Regions from separate parts of the Homo sapiens genome. Here all the other regions are linked to region 3. The links are contacts of gene promoters, found by promoter capture Hi-C in human tissues and cell types (Jung and others, 2019). All regions are on one chromosome and are shown on one strand. Each heading gives the region's core, a stretch centred on a gene start or on the middle of the fragment in contact. The rest is flanking DNA. Distances are from core to core; before and after follow the strand shown. Region 1 has its middle 35 kb from the start of CHRNA1. Region 2 overlaps CHN1 (chimerin 1). Region 3 holds the start of CHRNA1 (cholinergic receptor nicotinic alpha 1 subunit).

Region 1 (2,700 bases), core at 107-2,606, 35 kb before region 3:
GGAAAATGTTGTCCTGGTGTTAACCTTTGTGGGAGGAAGCCTTGAGAACCATCCTCCCCCGCAGCAACAGGTGGGTGTTCCTGGAAAAGGCTGGTTTGTTGGTGGTGGTGGTGGTGTGTGTGTGCGTGCGTGTGTGTGTTTTGAGATGGAGTTTCGCTCTTGTTACCCAGGCTGGAATGCAATGGCGCCATCTCGGCTCACTGCAACCTCCACCTCTTGGGTTCAAGCGATTCTCCTGCCTCAGCCTCCGAAAGTAGCTGGAATTACAGGCGCCTGCCACCACACCCGGCTAATTTTTGTATTTTTAGTAGAGACAGGGTTTCACCATGTTAGCCAGGCCGGTCTCGAACTCCTGACCTCAGGTTATCCACCTGCCTTGGCCTCCCAAAGTGCTAGGATTACAGGTGTGAGGCACCGCGCCCGGCCAGGGCTGGTCTTGTGTAGAGAGATCAGAGTGGTTCGGAAGCTTGACAGGAACAGGGATTTCTCCTTTCCTGGTGTTGTAATGACCTGAAAATCTGTCTTGTTCTTCAGTCTACCTTGTTCTCCACCCAAGGGTGTCGGGCATTTCCCAGCTTCACTGGCCTCCCGGTCTGTGCCTGCTGCTAGACTCCATCCGGGTTCCACTCACAGTTCTCCTCCCAGGGCTTTTCCCAACCACCCTGCCTCCTGCCTCATTATCCAAGGTGCCACAACCTATTTTACAGATTTCCTTGTTTATTTCCTCTCTGCCCTCTAATGCCATTTAAAAAATTTTATCATTTCTACTTCAGTTTATTATCTATTATGTAAAATAAAATATTTCCTGATTTTGATTTATCGTTATATCCCAAGGACCAAGAATGGCGCCGGGTACGGAGAACACTCAGCATCCTTCCATTTGTGGAAGGAATAAATATTTGTGTATCTATGTAGATCTGTTTTCCCACTTGCTTTGTGATCTGTGTATTTAAAGAGGGGGCAGCTTCTTCACAAGGCATTCTTTCTGGAAACAGAAATGCAATTCTTCTTAAGGAAAAGTGGATCATTAAGATTTCTGAACTAGTTTTGCAACTATATAGAGAAATGTTGGAGTAAAAGTTAATTCCAATGTTAAAATTCTATTCTGTAATTATCATAAAAACATAGACTTTTAAGAGCGTTATTTCTGGATCACACAGTTCCACCAGCACTCTCCCTAGTAGACAGCCTCAGAGGGGCTCAGAGCAGTCGGTGATATGCCGGGGACACCCGAGTCCCAGCCAGGAAGTGCCCAGGGAGGAATGAACCAGACCTATGGGAAGGAACAAGTGAGTCCTGCCAATGCAACCCCTGTCCTCCCTTTAAAAAAAAATGACAATTAAGCTTAATGAAGGTATTTGCAATTGAACCATGGATCTAAAAAGGTAAAAGTGGGGGAAAGTTAAGAGTTTCTAATTATAAGCATCATCTTCCTGAAACTCTCACTTTTACCCTTAATTCAGAAAAGACACGTGGCTCTTAACCTCCTATGTACTTGTGTTGCAGGTGGTGTCTTTGGTGGCTGTTCACCCTTCCACAGTAAACATGCTTGGGAAGCAACTTTGCCAAAAGCCTTCGGACAGTCCAGCGTCAACACCGCAAGCCAAGTGGTAAGGCCCGCGGGGACAGAACCGTCGGACCCTGGTGGCGAATCTGGGATGGATGAATTCGTTGCTGTTGCGGCGGGCGGTGTTGGCAGGAGCGCTAGATTTGCTCGGGTTGGAGTGTGAGATGTTCCCTTCCGCCGAAGGAGCCCATGCAGACAGGGCTAGATGTACCTTCTGCAGCTTCTGCAGCGACTTGAGGCGCGTCGCTGCTAGAGGGTCCTGGTGCCCTCGGCGTGCGTGAGGTGCTGTGTGTCCCTCCCCACCCCCCGTACAATCCTCCCCGTAACTGGGCAGTGGAATCGGTGGGCACTGGAAGGACCCGACGCAGGTGATGGGATGCAGCGCTTCCAGGTGGTGACCCCGGCTGGACGTGCGTGGGTGCGAACTGCCACCCGGGCTGGGGCCAGCTTGCTGCGCCGCTGCCTCCGCAAGCCCTCCCAGCCCGGAGCTGAGTCTGACGAGGATTTCTTACGCGTTCAAGCGAGTGTGGAGCGGCGAGGCAGTGCACTTGCCCCATAGCTCCCGCGCTGGGAAACCCGGAGGGGAGGGGCTGTGGAGGGCGGGAGCCCCGGGCAGTAGGTCTGTGCTTCTTCCTTGGTCCCATTACACGGGAAGGGCAAGGTGACGCCACTCAGCCACGCAGGCCTCGCATTGGTGCCTTCCCTTCCCTAGCCAGGACGCGGCTATTAAACGCTGCTTTTAGCCGATTGTATTTCCTGTCTTTGAATCCGTTTTCTTTCTCCTCTCTGGTTGGTTGGTTCTAGCTCTAAGCCCATCAAAGACTTTAAGGATCCTACACAGAGTGCTGCAGGCTCCCTTTGTCAGAATTGGGGCCCCTAGGAGCTGAGTGCGGCAGGTTTCGCCTGTTCCTGGAGCTCGTAGTCAGGGTCGCTAGTGCACTGCCACTCTGAGGACTGGACGGAGTTCCAGACCTGCCTCCGGGGACCTCCTGCGTGAGGGCGGAGGCCCTTTCATGACCGTGAGATGCTCCGGGCCTTCCTGGTCAGCATGAGCTGCAGCCTCCACGCTGGGGCCTCCTGCCAAGTCCCGGGCTTTGGTGACTTAAGTGCCTTTTGCAGTCTCACCACCCAGG
Region 2 (3,003 bases), core at 317-2,816, 43 kb after region 3:
GACCAGGAAGCATCCATAATGTTGGGTTACTGGAGGCTCTGTGACAAGCACCTGTCCTTTTATTCTAGGGCAGCAATGTCTTAACTGCAGGGGGAGGGAGTAAGGAAGGTGGGGGTGAGTGAACACAGACTTCAGGTGGGTTCATCAGGGAGTTTCCAGGGGCTTTGGAAGAACTTCCAGCTGTAGCATGGGATGACCTGGCCTTCTCCACCCTTGCTTTCCTTTTTCATTTCTTGCAGTCACCCCCTTCCAGCTTTTAAGCTACAGGTTCCTCCAAGAAAGCTGCAAAAGCAGAGCTCAAACAGCTTTTGTAGAAGAAAGGTTTAATGTAAATTCTGATATTTTGTTGGCAAAGGATGCTAATAAATGCCAGAGACATTTTTAGGAGCTGAGAGAGAAAAAAAATTTTGGAGAATATATCCGCATTAGGAAGGATCATTTAACCCTGTCCCTCGTTTGAAAGGGGTTCTTCCTTCTTCCCTTGTGTAAGTCTCATTCCCTGTTCTATCAAGTGAGCCAGGCAGTGTGACAGAGTGGGTAAAGCAAGGGCTCTGACCTTAGAGGTGTGTGTGAATGCCATTGCCGCCGCCCCTAGTGAGCAATGTGATCTTACACAATTTACTGATACTCCATCACATCTCCTTTCTAAAATTACATCATGGATGTAAAGTGCTCGGCAGGATTCATGGCACCTCGTCTATGCTCTATAAATGTTAATTTCTCTCATCTTCCTTGTCTGCCTTTTAAGAGAATGGCCGTATCTGCACATCTAAAGAATGAAACAGACTCTACTGCCAGAAGAGAGTGTACAAGGACACAATATTCCACAAACAAGATATCGCTATTAAACATGTACAACAAACGTTTATATTATATATTGGTATTATGCCAGGGTTTTTGGTGTCATTCATAAATCAGACATCCAAATAACTGAAATTATAAGGAGAAATTTCTACCTTGATTTCCGAAAGTTTCTTTCTTATGATGTGGTTTCCAGAGTTCTCTGAGGGGTGAGATAAGGGGGCTTGCTAATTTTGGACAGGAAGGCTGTTTCAGAAACTCCATAACGATGACAAATGATTTGGAAGGATAATAAAAAGGAGAGATTTTCTTCAGCAGCTAAGGTGGGTGTGGGGAAGGAAGGAGAGGTCATTTGGAATTGTGGGGACAAAGGCCTCGAAGTCCAAGAGGAGGCTTGGCTTTTACTTCTTCCTAGATATGGCGGTGTGTGGAGTTCAGAACCTGGGTTTGCATCACTGCTTTGTCCTCTGCTGATTGTGTGCCCCAGAGTTAGGCATAGAGCCAAGCTTCAGTTTTACTTCCAGAGTGGAAGCTTACCCACTTTCAGTGGGATCGGAGTCCTCGGGATCAGAGCATACTGTGGACTAGGCAGCTTTTCACGGGCTATCTGTGTGTGTGTGTGTGTGTGTGTGTGTGTGTGTGTGTGTGTGTGTGTGTGTGTGTGTGTGTGTGTGTTGCTTTCTAGATGAGTGGCAATCAGACTTAACTGGAGAGGAAATGTCTGCCCCATGAGACAAGGACATGTGAGATCCCTCATACAAATTTTCATGATCAGCACTGCGTCCATAAGAGACCTAGAATTTTTCATGCTTTCTAACCTAATGCTTTGAAAGAAATCAGTGTAATTCTCACAGCTGTTCTCTACATGGGAGCTTGAGCTGACCCACAAGAAATCAGACCTCCATGGAACTAACCACAAAAATCCTCTACAAAAGCCCTGAGAGGGAAACTAAAATTTAGAACAAAGAAAGATTGTACTTCATGAAATTCCCAAGTCAAAAAGCAAATTAGTGTTACTAAGGAAGTGATGTTATCATCTAAAGATGAAGACAACATATGGTTTTAAAGAGAGAAAAGCAAAATGACAGAAATAGCCTATCTTTTCCAAAAAAACCAGTAATGCTAATACTTAAAACCAATAAGAATTCCCTTCTTTAAAAAATGAAGTGTGAATTACAAGTATGATTTTTACAGCATAAATGAACTTTGACAAATAAACCTTTGCTTTTTCTCATTTTCATTTCAACTAGAATTTACAAAAACTTCTTGATATAAAATAGTGCTTTTTAAAGTACAATGTGTGGGCCAGTGCCAGTTTGCTGTTAATAGTCTGAGTGAACTTATACAAGCACAGAAACTGAGAATAAGAATTTAGAAACATATAGTAATCTGATAGAAATTTTATGTTTGCTGAATTTAATAAAAGATAGTTGGTTTTTTGTTTGTTTTTGTTTTATTTCTTGAGACGTAGTTTTGCTCTTGTTGCCCAGGCTGGAATGCAATGGCACAATCTCAGCTCACTGCAACCTCTGCCTCCCGGGTTCAAGCAATTCTCCTGCCTCAGCCTCCTGAGTAGCTGGGACTACAGGCGCGTGCCACCACGCCCAGCTAATTTTTTGTATTTTTAGTAGAGATGGGGTTTCACCATGTTGGCCAGGCTGGTCTTGCACTCCTGACTTCAGGTGATCTGCCCACCTCAGCCTCCCAAAGTGCTGGGATTACAGGCGTGAGCCACTGCCAGCCTGGTTTTGTTTTTTTAATTTACTTTTCCAGTTATTCATTTTTATTTTATTTTACAAAAGCATTGGCTTACATCTAAAGAGCACTGGTATAAGCCTTATTTTGGAAAATGAGGTTTAGCACATTACAAAGAAGCTTCTGATGGTATTAAGTCATAAAATAATCTACGTTAGAGAACAATGCAAAATTCTTGTAAGTACATTAACCATAGAGAGAGGCAAAGGGGAAACATTTCATAAAATGCATTCAAGTTAGCCAGAAAACCAGGAAGGTGATTACCAAGAGGACGTTGTCAGGTTATTTGAAATACATGCATTCATACTTACTGGCAGATTCTATAAACTTAGGGTAGGCATCATATGTAATGAGTGGAATTGGCAAATCCCTGAAGTACAGTTTAAGTGCACCAGTGATAATGTTGATATCTTCATACATGTTCACAGAAATATCTGCCTTCTCACC
Region 3 (2,700 bases), core at 93-2,592:
CCCATGGAAATCAATGCCAGCAAACTCGAGATTTGACCTAAATACATATCACATACTTCTTTAATAGCTAATCATGCATTTTTGGTTAGCAATAACCAAAATCCTAAGAGATCTCTTAAGGATGTTTACATTAAAGCATATCATTTAAGAATTTTCCTGTGACTGTGGTTTTGCGTGCACGCATGTGTGTGCACGCGCGCGCACACACACACACACACACACACACACATCAGGCCAGCTTTGGCTGGACAGAGTCCAAATCCCACATGATATAATTTATCTGAGTTTAGGCTCTTTCACTCAACTCTGATATTGAAAAAAATTAATAATAAAGCTTTTTGCCTCTTGACCAGAAGGCCTGTGTTTTTCAGAGCAATATTGGAAATGAAAAATCACAGGATGTCAGCCACCTTGTTTCTCAGTTGGGATGATATCACCAGTAAACTTTTATGTGAAGCAATCAGCAAACATCTCCTGTTTCCCTCTAGCGGAAGTCTGGGATTCAGGATGGTGTTTCAGCTGCTGTGTTAGGACACATTCCAGAGTAGAATGCAGGTCAAATGCTGTGCAAGGTTTTATAGTTTCAATTCAAACCCAAACCTATATATAGTAACATCTTAAAAAAAAAAAGTAGGTAGGAATGTATTCATATGGAATTTTTTTTAACTTCAGAAATTTTGAAAAAATTAAAAAATATTTGTCTCTGTGGAGAGAGTTTAGTTATGATTATTAACTGGTTTCTATCTCCAGCACATGTAGCTGTCAATCAGTCCTCTTTATTATTAGAATTCTCCTGGAGCAGTAAAGGGACTTGTTAACTCCATTGTATGTGATTATAAGGCACTGTTCTAAGTATCCATAGTTGTTTAAATATGAACCCCCGGACACTACCATGATCCACAAGTGGTCCAGGTCCTACAAATGGTGCCGAGTGTTCAGAGGGATGAGTCGGCTGCCAGGCATGATGGAGGGAGAGACATGCGTGTCTATCTTGAAGTCTTTGACCAGGCAGTTTCTATTTTAATTAGATAAGGCAAACTAAAAATCTTTATCCAAAAACTCAATCAAGCTAACATCAGGAAGAAACTGACAGAGCAGCCCCTGGTTGGGGAGGCTCTGCCATTCTGTGGTCTCATCAAAGAAGCAAGACTTTGATTTGGGGGCCTCCAGCACTTTAGCCTCAAAGGAGAGCCCTCTCCCCACCCCTGACCCCAGCACTTACCTGAGCAAAGGCTAAAGAGCAGGAGGAGAGGCCAGGGCTCCATGGGCTACCGGAGCTTGTGTGGACCAGGGCAGAGTGGTGGCCTGTGCTTCTCACTGGCACTCTGGCTGGGTGCTTGTCTGCTGGAGGGTTTGGAAAGCGAGTCGGCTCACTAGAGCTATTGTTTTACACCACCTGTTTGTGGGAGCGACAGCTGGGCTGCCCTCAGCCCTGGAGCCCAGGGAGTTACTGGGACTGTACACCATTACAGATATGCCTCACTTTACACAATTGCTTACCCTTGACAAGCTGAGTATGAACTGCATTATATTTTAAATGCACCAGTAGTCAGATCTTAATGAAAAAAAAATGTATAGGAAGGAAGGAATTATTTTAAATGGTGAGCAAACTGCCTCTCTTTTGTGTAAACCAGAACCTCATCTCTGTGGGTTGACTTGATTAGGGTCATTTGGTCTGAGTAGATAGTCAGCTGTTTGTCCTAAACCACAAAAATCCACATTCTGCAAACATGGCTTCAGTTTCATTTCCTCTGCTTCAGTGTTAGGCTGAGGGTGCCGGGGGCTTTTCTGACTGCCTGGATTTCAGAAAAGTGTAGCTGGTGTTGAGTCTGCTGCTGGGAAGCCCCCACGTTGATTGGGTTTGGTTTTTAACAAAGACAGCTTCTTCCATAAAACTGGCTTTACTGGCCCCCAGAGTGGCTGTTCCAACCCCTGCCTCTGTATCAGGCAATACCTATCCCACACGAACCATTAGCTGGAGCAAATTGCCCACGTCCTATGCACTGTGATTCAAGCGAAGAGTAATTATTGGGAAAAAGTGTCCCACCGCATCAGCAGTCGTTCCGGGTTCCTGCCTCCTTCCATCCGTCCCTCTGCCTACTCTCACTCAGGGAAGCAAAGAGCAGAGTGGTTCAGCTTTTCAATTATCTTGCTTGAAAAACATCCTAAAAACCAGCAGTTAGTAATTTCTCAGTCTGAGAAGTATTGTTACCCTAGCTGTGCTTCTTTGCAGGGTGTGAGGTGAGTTCCCAGAAGGAGACAGTTACTTAAAGGTACCCTGCCTGTTCCTTCCAGGCCTCCTTCCCACATGGAACTAGGTGAGAAAGGTCCTCTCACCTCAAGCCCACAACAACATCCTGACAGATCCTCTCATTCCAGTGGATCCAAACAAATCATTAGAGAAGGGGCTTGGAGGGTAGAGGAGAGAGCTGCAAGCTCATACTATTTATATTTTTTGTTTAAACTGTGGGAGATCAGTTAACTGTTTGCTAAAAAAAAATTTGGTTCTCTCCCTTCCATGGAATAGCCCCGTGGCAGAAATACAACCCCCACCCTCTGACCAGCCCCTTCCATCTAAATGGAGCCATGGGACTGACCTCTGGCCAGTGGCATGAGTGGAAAAATGTTCTCAGACTCACAAACCTACCAGAGCTCAGCCCCGCCCTTCTAGTCTTCTGACCGGCTAGAATGGACATGGTC

The links. The method cuts DNA at HindIII sites, captures the fragments that hold promoters and counts their contacts. A contact is called where the count stands out against the background at its distance.
Region 1: a contact is called between a fragment that was not itself captured here and the fragment with the promoter of CHRNA1 in region 3, in 5 of the 25 tissues and cell types used here (adrenal gland, bladder, hippocampus and 2 more).
Region 2: a fragment that was not itself captured here is called in contact with the fragment with the promoter of CHRNA1 in region 3 in 1 of the 25 tissues and cell types used here (IMR-90 fibroblasts).

What each region holds. Positions count from the first base shown.
Region 1 is chr2:174,728,215-174,730,914 of GRCh38, forward strand. No RefSeq gene overlaps it. Among named protein-coding and RNA genes, the nearest start is that of CHRNA1, 35 kb to the right of the region's middle. RefSeq lists an enhancer at 1,609-2,348 and a silencer at 1,947-2,241. The HindIII fragment of the contact is 6,702 bases long and covers 1-2,700 here.
Region 2 is chr2:174,806,038-174,809,040 of GRCh38, forward strand. It overlaps CHN1 (chimerin 1), which reads right to left. Exons shown (of 13, transcript NM_001822.7): 11 at 2,868-3,003. Among named protein-coding and RNA genes, the nearest start is that of CHRNA1, 43 kb to the left of the region's middle. The HindIII fragment of the contact is 4,550 bases long and covers 1-3,003 here.
Region 3 is chr2:174,763,130-174,765,829 of GRCh38, forward strand. It overlaps CHRNA1 (cholinergic receptor nicotinic alpha 1 subunit), which reads right to left and starts at 1,343. Exons shown (of 9, transcript NM_000079.4): 1 at 1,223-1,343. The coding sequence starts at 1,265. RefSeq lists an enhancer at 1,344-1,843. The HindIII fragment of the contact is 8,948 bases long and covers 1-2,700 here.